Regions from separate parts of the Homo sapiens genome. Here all the other regions are linked to region 1. The links are contacts of gene promoters, found by promoter capture Hi-C in human tissues and cell types (Jung and others, 2019). All regions are on one chromosome and are shown on one strand. The core of a region is centred on a gene start or on the middle of the fragment in contact, and the rest is flanking DNA. Distances in the headings are between cores, read along the strand shown.

Region 1 (3,046 bases), core at 175-2,674:
CCCTGTCCTATGTGGCTGAAAAAAGACGAAGAGCAGAAGTCATCTTGCCTGCAAGATGGAGCTTTTCCTTTAGAGCATCTCAAAGCAAGCCCTGTTGTTCTGCAGCCTGTCAGAGCAGGGCCATTAAAGAACCTGCAGAGTCAGAACCATCCTGCACCCCCTTTTCAAACTCCCCCCTTAAATAGAAAAAAGTAGTGGGTGAGAATGACAAAGCACGTTGCCCTGGAAATCTCTTGGGTCCAAGTAGCTGTATCCCTAACGACGATCCTACAGGAGCTTGCCTGACCCAGTCTCCAACACAGTCCTTTATTTCTTACAGATACAAGGAATAGAGCAGCACTGCATTGCCACCTCTAAATTGCTCTCCCCTGAGATGGGAGTATCTCCTCTTTCATCCATGTCACAGCCCAAAGAGTAGAAGGGTGCACCCCTGTGAGATGAGAATGGCATCTGTCTCTTTGATCCATCAGTTATATACTGAGGCATCAAAGGTGGGAGATGGAATCAGGGAATCAAAAGGGTTTAGGAAGTGTGAGGGTTGGCCATCCTACCTTTAAGAGTTTGCAGTTCTCATGAGGAAGGGGACATTACTTAGAAATGATTTAAAAAATTCCTTATGTGGCAGCTATATGCTTCTGTCCAGTGTTAACTGGCCCTTTTTAATAGCCCTGGTAATTCCCTTCAGTCTGAGGACAAAATTTTACAAGAAGGAGGGTGGGGAGATGTCTCTGGGAGCTGCTGGAGGGAATGAAGCAATACTACATATTCTTCACTTTCTTACAGGATAGCAAAGTACTCCTCCAACCACCTACAGATAAAAAGCAATCTAGCCATGCACGGTGGCTCACACCTGTAATCCTAGCACTTTGGGAGGCCAAGGCAGGCGGATCACCTGAGGTCAGGGGTTCGAGACCAGCCTGGCCAACATGGTGAAACCCCATCTGTACTAAAAATACAAAAATTACCTTGGCGTGGTGGTGGGCGCCTGTAATCCCAGCTACTTAGGAGGCTGAGGCAGGAGAATCGCTTGAACCTGGGAGGTTGCAGTGAGCCCGGATCGCTTCATTGCACTCCAGCCTGGGCAACAAGAGCAAGACTCTGTCTCAAAAAAAAAAAAAAAAAAGCCATCTAGTATGGCTGATAGGAGAGCTCTATGAGTTCAAATTAGTCTTTTTTTACCCTGTCTCAAAAAATAAATGAAAAATAAAAATAAACTCCCCTTAAATGTTAAATGAGCATGAACAGAAACTGTCCCTTCCTGAATTCAGCCATTATTCACCTGTTCGCCTTAGATGAAGAATCAAGGAACAGCAGCTCTAGGGGGTTGGGAGGAGTTAGGGTCCGGCCCTGCCCCAGACCTCTCAGTGTCCAATTTCTCTGTGTCAGCTGTGTTTCTCAGCTGTCCACTTTCCTCCAGCCCTGTCATTTCAGCCCTGACACCAAGGCAGGAGGCTAGGAGGTCTACAAATAGCGACTGGGTAGCTGGTGTGAACACAGGGGGTACTGGGGGGGCTTAGCCCCCAAGGAAGAGGACCAGTTTTTCCCCAGCACCACCATCAAGGCCTCGAGGCTCCCAGCTCCCTCTACAGCCTGTGGACTGACTTAGGGAATCCCGAACGTAAGTTACCTCTTCATCCTCTTGATTTCCACGACTGCTCACCCCAGCTGCCCTGATCTATAATCTACTCAGCTTCTTCATTTCTCTCCTTGTCTGTGAGTCTTTTGGGTTTTAGGCGTAAAATTATTATTCTACTCTAGGATGAGTTTGGATTGAAGCGGGGGGTGGGGGTGGGGGTGGGGTGAAGGGAATGAAGTAGTAAGGGAAGGAAAGGCTCATATTACCCTGAAAACTTAAAATAGCTGAGCCCTGAGGCAGGCTGGGACAGAACTAGGCACAGGGCCCCCAGGGCTCAAGAAAAAAGTAGGGGAGGACAAATGTCTCCAGTCCATCCTTCCTTGTGTGCACACGAGGACACACATTAAACCTCTTGAAGAGAGGAGATCTGGGAAGGTATGCATCACATCTCTGTTGCCCACAGATTTCCAGGAGAAACAAAGTACCTATAGGAAAATGACGTAAACCACGCAGCTTTGAACACTGTGTAAGGGCTGTAAACTATGGGGTCGCCCCTCAGGATGGAAGGATGAGTATCAGTTTGAGGAACTAATTGGGAAGCTCTTTAGTCTGTTGGGCTTTTTTTTTTTTTTTTTTTTTTTTTTTGAGACGAAGTCTTGCTCTGTCACCCAGGCTGGAGGGCAGTGGCACAATCCCGGCTCACTGCAACCTCCGCCTCCCGGGTTCAAGCGATTATCCTTCCTCAGCTTCCTGAGTGGATGGGATTACAGGCGTCCGCCACCACACCCGGCTAATTTTTATATATTTAGTAGAGATGGGGTTTCACCATGTTGGCCAGGCTAGTCTTGAACTCCTGATCTCTAGTGATCCGCCTGCCTCAGCCTCCCAAAGTGCTGGGATTACAGGCATGCACCACCACACCCGGCCATGTTAAGCTTTTTTCTAGACCTCCATGAAATCTGTTAATAAAACCTGCCAAAGGATCTGTATTTGGCCCAGTGCAGTGGCTCACGCCTGTCTCAACAATTTGGGAGGTTGAAACAGGAAGATTGCTTGAGCTAGTTCGGGACCAGCCTAGGCAACAAAGCAAGACCATGTCTCTACAAAAAATAAAAAAGTAGCCAGGTAGTGTGCACCTTGTGTTCCAGCTACTCAGGAAGCTGAGGTAGGGGGATCGCTTCAGGCTGGGAGGTCGAGGCTGCAGTGAGCCATGATCACGCCACTGCACTCCAGCCTGGGTGACAGAGTGAGACCCCATCTCAACAGTAACAACAGCAAAATCTCTCATCACATTTCTCCGAAAGCCTCCCCTTTGAGGACCACCCTACTGCAAGGGACAGAAAGGGAGAGAAGAATGAAAGGGATTAGATTTCATAGTGGGGTCCAACCTCTTGCAGGATGACAGAAAAGGAGGTGCTGGAGTCCCCTAAGCCCTCCTTCCCAGCAGAGACTCGGCAAAGTGGGGTGAGT
Region 2 (3,046 bases), core at 364-2,863, 180 kb after region 1:
GTCCTGGCTACTTGGGAGGCTGAAGTGGGAGGATTGTTTGAGCCCAAGAGTTTGAGGCTGCAATGAGCTATGATCACATTACTGTACTCCAGCCTGAGCAGCAGAGCCAGACCCTGTCTCAAAAAAAAAATAAAAAAATAAAATAAAAAACCTGCCAATTCTGTTCTACTCAGGAAAGGGATAGAGAAAATCAACAGATGGAGTAGTTTAGCTTACTTTATTCCTTTATAGGACAGGAAGTATATCTAGTGTTTAAGACCATAGTCAGACCTGGGGGTGAATCTCAGATAGGCTATTTACTATTTGTGTGATTTTGGAGCAAATTACTTAATCTTTCTTAAACATCAGTTCCTCATTTATAAAATAGGGATTATGAGAGTGCTTACCTCATAGCATTGTTGGGAGCATTAAATGAGACAGCATACTGTCTCTTTTATTTATGTATTTATTTTTTATTTTTTTGAGACAGAGTTTTGCTCTTTTTGCCCAGGCTGGGGTGCAATGGCGTGATCTCGGCTCACCTCAACCTCCGCCTCCCAAGTTCAAGTGATTCTCCTGCCTCAGCCTCTCGAGTAGCTGGGATTACAGGCATGTGCCACCACGCCTGGCTAATGTTTTTGTATTTTAGTAGAGACGGGGGGGTTTCTCCATATTGGTCAGGCTGATCTCAAACTTCTGACCTCAGGTCATCCGCCCACCTCAGCCTCCCAAAGTGCTGGGATTACAGGCATGAGCCACCGCGCCTGGCAGCATACTGTCTTAATAGATACTTAATACAAAAAAAAAAATTAGCCGGGCACGGTGGCGGGCGCCTGTAGTCCCAGCTACAGGCTGAGGCAGGAGAATGGCGTGAACCCAGGGGGCGGAGCTTGCAGTGAACCAAGATAGCCCCACTGCAGTCCGGCCTGGGCAAAAGAGCGAGACTGTCTCAAAAAAAAAAAAAAATAGATACTTAATAGTAGTTTTTATTATTACTTTTCTGACTGAATGACTGTGTAATATTTAAATAATTAAACGACAGAAATAAGATTCTGCCTTAGTTCTTCCTTCTTCTCAGTTTTTTTTCTTATTTCTCAGTCTGGCTAATGTTTTAACCCAAAGTTTAGGAAAATGGTTAGTTTAATCTTTTTCATGAAATGAGTTATAGTTATTAGCTTGTTATGTTTAATTCTTGTTTCCTTTCTTTGCATAAAGCTGAAACTGATGTAAATGTGGTCATGCTTCAGGAATCCCAAGTTTGTGAAAAGCGTGCCAGCCAACAATTCTGTTACACAAATGTGCTTATCCCAAAATGGCATGATATATGGACACGGATACAGGTAATAACTTGGAATCCTCTGGCAGTGGCAGCTTCTGTAAATTTCTGTTGGTGATTAGTGAGTATTTTGACACTTTCTTCCCCTTCACATGCTTAAAAAAAATGTTGTTAACAATCTTGTTAGGGTTGAGATTATCCTGAGTTGTGTTTTCATCAATAAGCATTTATGCCTACTTTGTATTCCTCTCTGCTCCCTCAAGTAGATTACGGTATTCTAAGGTAAACTTCTTTCCTCCTCCCTCCTTTTCCCAAAGAAACTGCTTTGTTTTCTTGTCCTTCATTTTGCAGTATGTGTGTGTGCACGCACACATACCCCTCTTTCTTTTTTTATTTTTATTTTTTATTTTTTGAGGCAGAGTCTCCCTCTGTCGCCCAGGCTGGAGTGCAGTGGCACCATCTTGGCTCACTGCAATCTCTGCCTCCCGGGTTCAAGCGATTCTCCTGCCTCAGCCTCCCAAGTAGCTGGGATTACAGGCATACGCCACCACACCTGACCAATTTTTTTGTATTTTTTGTAGAGATGGGGTTTCATCATGTTGGCCAGGCTGGTCTGAAACTCCTGCCCTCAGGTGATCTGCCCACCTTGGCCTCCCAAGGTGTTGGGATTATAGGCATGAGCTATCGCACCCAGCCCCCTTCTTTCTTTTTAAAGGCCTTATGCCTTCTTTGGGCTGGAAACTGTTATGTGCCTGTGAGGATGTAAACTCTTTTGCCCCACTGTTCCTATTCTGATTCTATATGAGATATTTCATAAACCCCCGAGCTGAAGAATTACTTTGGTCTCATTTATTTCATAACACTGTTAAGTCACCTGGCAAACAGGAATGTCTGGCTGTAACAGTGATTGTACAAAATAGGTCCTTTCAGAAATGTCGTAGTTGTTATAAGCATAGTTACTGATAAGGACATTTGTTGTTCACATCAAAAACATAAGGGTGGACTTGTGGATTTGTTTTTTTTTTTTGAGACGGAGTCTCGCTCAGTCACCCAGGCTGGAGTGCAGTGGCACGACCTCGGCTCCCTGCAACCTCTGCCTCTTGAGTAGCTGGGGGCCATGCCCAGCCAACTTGTGGATTTTTAAAAAAAATTCTTTAAAAAAAATGTCTGACAAGCCGGGCGCAGTGGCTCATGCCTGTAATCTCAGCACTTTGGGAGGCTGAGGCGGGCAAATCACTTGAGGTCAGGAGTTCGAGACCAGCCTGGCCAATATGGTGAAACCCCGTCTCTACTAAAAATACAAAAATTAACTGGGCATGGTGGCGCACACCCTGTAGTCCCAGCTACTCAGGAGGCTGAGGCAGAAGAATCGCTTGAATCCAGGAGGTGGCGGTTGCAGTGAGCTGAAGTCATGTCACTGCACTCCAGCTTGGGCGACAGAGCGAGACTCCATCTCAAAAAAAAAAATTATCTGATAAAAAAGTGATACTCCATCTGGGGCACATTATAACCAACATTTACTCATAATCAGTGGCTTGTGACAATGGATTGAACTCAGCCTGTCATTACGGAAAACATTTTTAGTTTTCTGGGGCAGTTTATGCCTGGCAATTTTCTTAATATTATAGACCTTTGCTTTGTGTGATCTCTAATAAATAGCTGTATTGATAACTCTTTCAGTTTGGAAGTCTTTTTTCCCTCTATGTTCTGCCCTAATAGTAGATTCAGATCATGTTAACAAGAAGGTATTCTAACAGCTGTCTCTCTGTAACATGTGCAGTGTTATTTGCC
Region 3 (3,046 bases), core at 292-2,791, 130 kb after region 1:
AAGCCTAATCACAAAGCGTGATTTTAGCCACAGTAAGGACTTAGAATTTTTTTTCTAGAAGTAGTGTAGAGCCAGTTGAGAAATTGGTGAAGTCCTTAATGCATGAGTGATGGAGCTGGAGAGGAAGAGGATTCAGAAACAATAAAGAAGTAGGATCTAGTATACTAACCAGTTAACTGTATAGGCCTGAAGATAGTGACAGAGAAATCTGAGTCTAGAAAATTTGGCTCACATTAGAATCACCTGGAGAGTTTTTAAAAATCCCAGTGCTGTGGTGGCATGCATCTGTAGGCCCAGCTACTCAGGAGACTAAGGTGGGAGGATTGCTTGAGCTCAGGAGGTTGAGGCTGCAGTGAACCTGATCACTGCATGATCATGCCACTGCACTCCAGCCTGGGTAACAGAGTGCAACCCTGTCTCAAAAAGAAAAATAAATGAATCAATGCTGGAGGATTTATGCTACTTGATTTCAAGACTTGTAAGTGACAGTAATCAAGACTATGTGGTGCTAGCATGAGAATTGACAAACAGATCCATGGAGCAGAATAGAGAACCAGAAATAGACTCACAATCATTTGATTTTTTAATAAAAATTCTATATGCGTTTATTATTTTATAATGTTACTTTTATATACTTTTATCTTGGAATTATTTTTCGTTTGATTAGTTTTCTATGCATCTATCATTTTCCCCAAATATCTCAACATAATTTTAAAAAATCAGATAGTTGTTTGATTTCTTATTGCAATTCCTTTGTGTTTACCACCCCTCCACCCTGCTCATCCCTATCTCACCCTGTGCAACTTCTGCATTCTTGCTTCAATGTTGACTAGGCACAGGCTTCGTTTTTCTTTTTGAGACAGAGTTTTGCTCTGTTGCCCAGTCTGGAGTGCAGTGGTATGATCATAGCTCACTGCAGCCTCAACCTCCTGGGCTTAAACTATTTTCCCCTGTCAACTTCCCAAGTAGCTGGGACTACAGACACATGCCACCATGCCTGGCTTCAGCATCCATTCTTAAACTCCTTTTCACCATTGATCTGGGATTTTACTCTTAGCTGGAACCTGTCTGAGACCCGACTATTGGAGGTCTCTTACTGCTGGAGGATGGTATCTCTGGGAAAGGCCCACTCCCAGACCCAGGAATGTAGGATCCATCTCAGTGCAGCTTTTCTCAGCTCTCTACTTGTCTGGGGTACCACACTTCTCAACCGGATTCTGTACTTCTCATAAAGGTATTTTGATCAGTAAATTGTTAAATCTGTGTTTCTGTGAGGGGATGAGAGGCGGGACTTCGTATTGCACCAACTGGCTGATCCCACTGTAAAGGTCATTTGATTTTGGCAAAGATGTCAAAGCCAGCCAGTGGAGAAAGGAATGTCTGTTCAATAAATAGTTATGGAACAACTTCATATCTATATGGGAGAAATAAATGAACCTTGACCCCTACCTCACACCATATGCAAAAATTAATTCAAGATTGATTATAGGCTGGGCCCAGTGGCTCACACCTGTAATCCCAGCACTTTGGGAGGCTGAAGCAGTTGAATCACCAGAGGTCAGGAGTTCAAGACCAGCCTGCCCAACATGGTGAAACTCTGTTTCTACTAAAAATACACAATTAACAGGCCAGGCATGGTGGCTCACACCTGTAATCTCAGCACTTTGGGAGGACAAGGCGGGTGGATCATCTGAGCTCAGTTCAAGACCAGCCTGGCCAACATGGCAAAACACTGTCTCTACTAAAAATACAAAAATTAGCTGGGCATGGTGGTGCATGCCTGTAATCCTAGCTACTCAGGAGGCTGAGGCAGGATAATCGCTTGAACCTGAGAGGCGGAGGTTGCAGTGAGCTGAGATCACACCACTGCACTCCAGCCTGAGTGACAGCGAGACTCTGTGTCAAAAAAATTAATTAATTAAAAAAATAAAAATACAAAAATTAGCTGGGTGTGGTGGTGGGCACCTGTAATCCCAGCTACTCAAGAGGCTGAGGCAGGAGAATTGCTTGAACCCAGGAGGTGGAGGGTGGAGTGAGCCGAGATCGCGCCACTGCACTCCAGCCTGGGTGACAGAGCGAGACTCCGTCTAAAAAAAAAGATTGATTATAGACCTAAACCACAAATGCTAAAATCATAAAGCTTTTAGACAAAAACACAGAATATCTTCATAATTTGGAGGAAAGCAACCCCTTCTTAAGCTATAGAAAGCAATAACATAAATTTCTTGATAAGTGAAACATCAAAATAGAAAACTTTTGCTCGTCAGAAGACATCATTATGGAGTAATCCCAGCACTTTGGGAGGCTGACATAGAAGAACTGCTTGAGGCCAGGAGTTTGAGACCAGCCTGGCCAACAAAGCTAGACTCTGTCACTACAAAAAATTTAAAAAATTAGCCGAGTGTGATGGTGTGCACCTGTAGTCCCAGCTACTCCAGAGGCTGAGAAGAGAGGATTGCTTGAGCCCAGGAGTTAGAGGCTGCAGTGAGTTGATTGTGCCACTGCACTCCAGCCTGAGTGACAGTGAGACCCTGACTCAAAAAAAAAAGACATTATTATGAAAATGTGGAAGTAAGCCAAATAGATAGACAAAACATTGATCTGAGAAGGGACAGAGGAATGCGAGATATATTAAAAATTCCTATAACATAGTAATAAAATGACAACCCAATGAATGGACAATAAGCATATGAAAGGTACTCGAGGCTAGGTGCAGTGGTGCACGCCTGTAATCCCAGCACTTTGGGAGGCCAAGGTGGGAGGATCGCTTGAGGTCAGCAGTTTCAGACCAGCCTAGGCAATATATCGAGACCTCATCTCTACAAAAAGTCCGGGCGTGGTGACTCACGCCTGTAATCCCAGCACCTTGGAAGGCCGAGGCGGGCGGATCACGAGGTCAGGAGTTCAAGACCAGCCTGGCCAATGTGGCCATACCCTGTCTCTACTAAAAATACAAAAATTAGCTGAGCATGGTGGTGGGCACCTGTAATCCCAGCTACTTGGGAGGTTGAGGCAGGAGAATCACTTGAACCCAGGAGGCAGAGGT

What was found. Contacts are between HindIII fragments. The study calls those that stand out against the background at their distance.
Region 2: a contact is called between a fragment that was not itself captured here and the fragment with the promoter of STAC3 in region 1, in 1 of the 25 tissues and cell types used here (adrenal gland).
Region 3: a contact is called between a fragment that was not itself captured here and the fragment with the promoter of STAC3 in region 1, in 2 of the 25 tissues and cell types used here (bladder and liver).

The regions. Positions count from the first base shown.
Region 1 is chr12:57,249,565-57,252,610 of GRCh38, reverse strand. STAC3 (SH3 and cysteine rich domain 3) reads left to right here and starts at 1,424. Exons shown (of 12, transcript NM_145064.3): 1 at 1,424-1,618; 2 at 2,974-3,040. The coding sequence starts at 2,975. The HindIII fragment of the contact is 9,667 bases long and covers 1-3,046 here.
Region 2 is chr12:57,071,061-57,074,106 of GRCh38, reverse strand. It overlaps NEMP1 (nuclear envelope integral membrane protein 1), which reads left to right. Exons shown (of 9, transcript NM_001130963.2): 2 at 1,195-1,319. Among named protein-coding and RNA genes, the nearest start is that of NEMP1, 6.2 kb to the left of the region's middle. The HindIII fragment of the contact is 5,784 bases long and covers 1-3,046 here.
Region 3 is chr12:57,120,707-57,123,752 of GRCh38, reverse strand. No RefSeq gene overlaps it. Among named protein-coding and RNA genes, the nearest start is that of LRP1, 6.3 kb to the left of the region's middle. The HindIII fragment of the contact is 4,651 bases long and covers 1-3,046 here.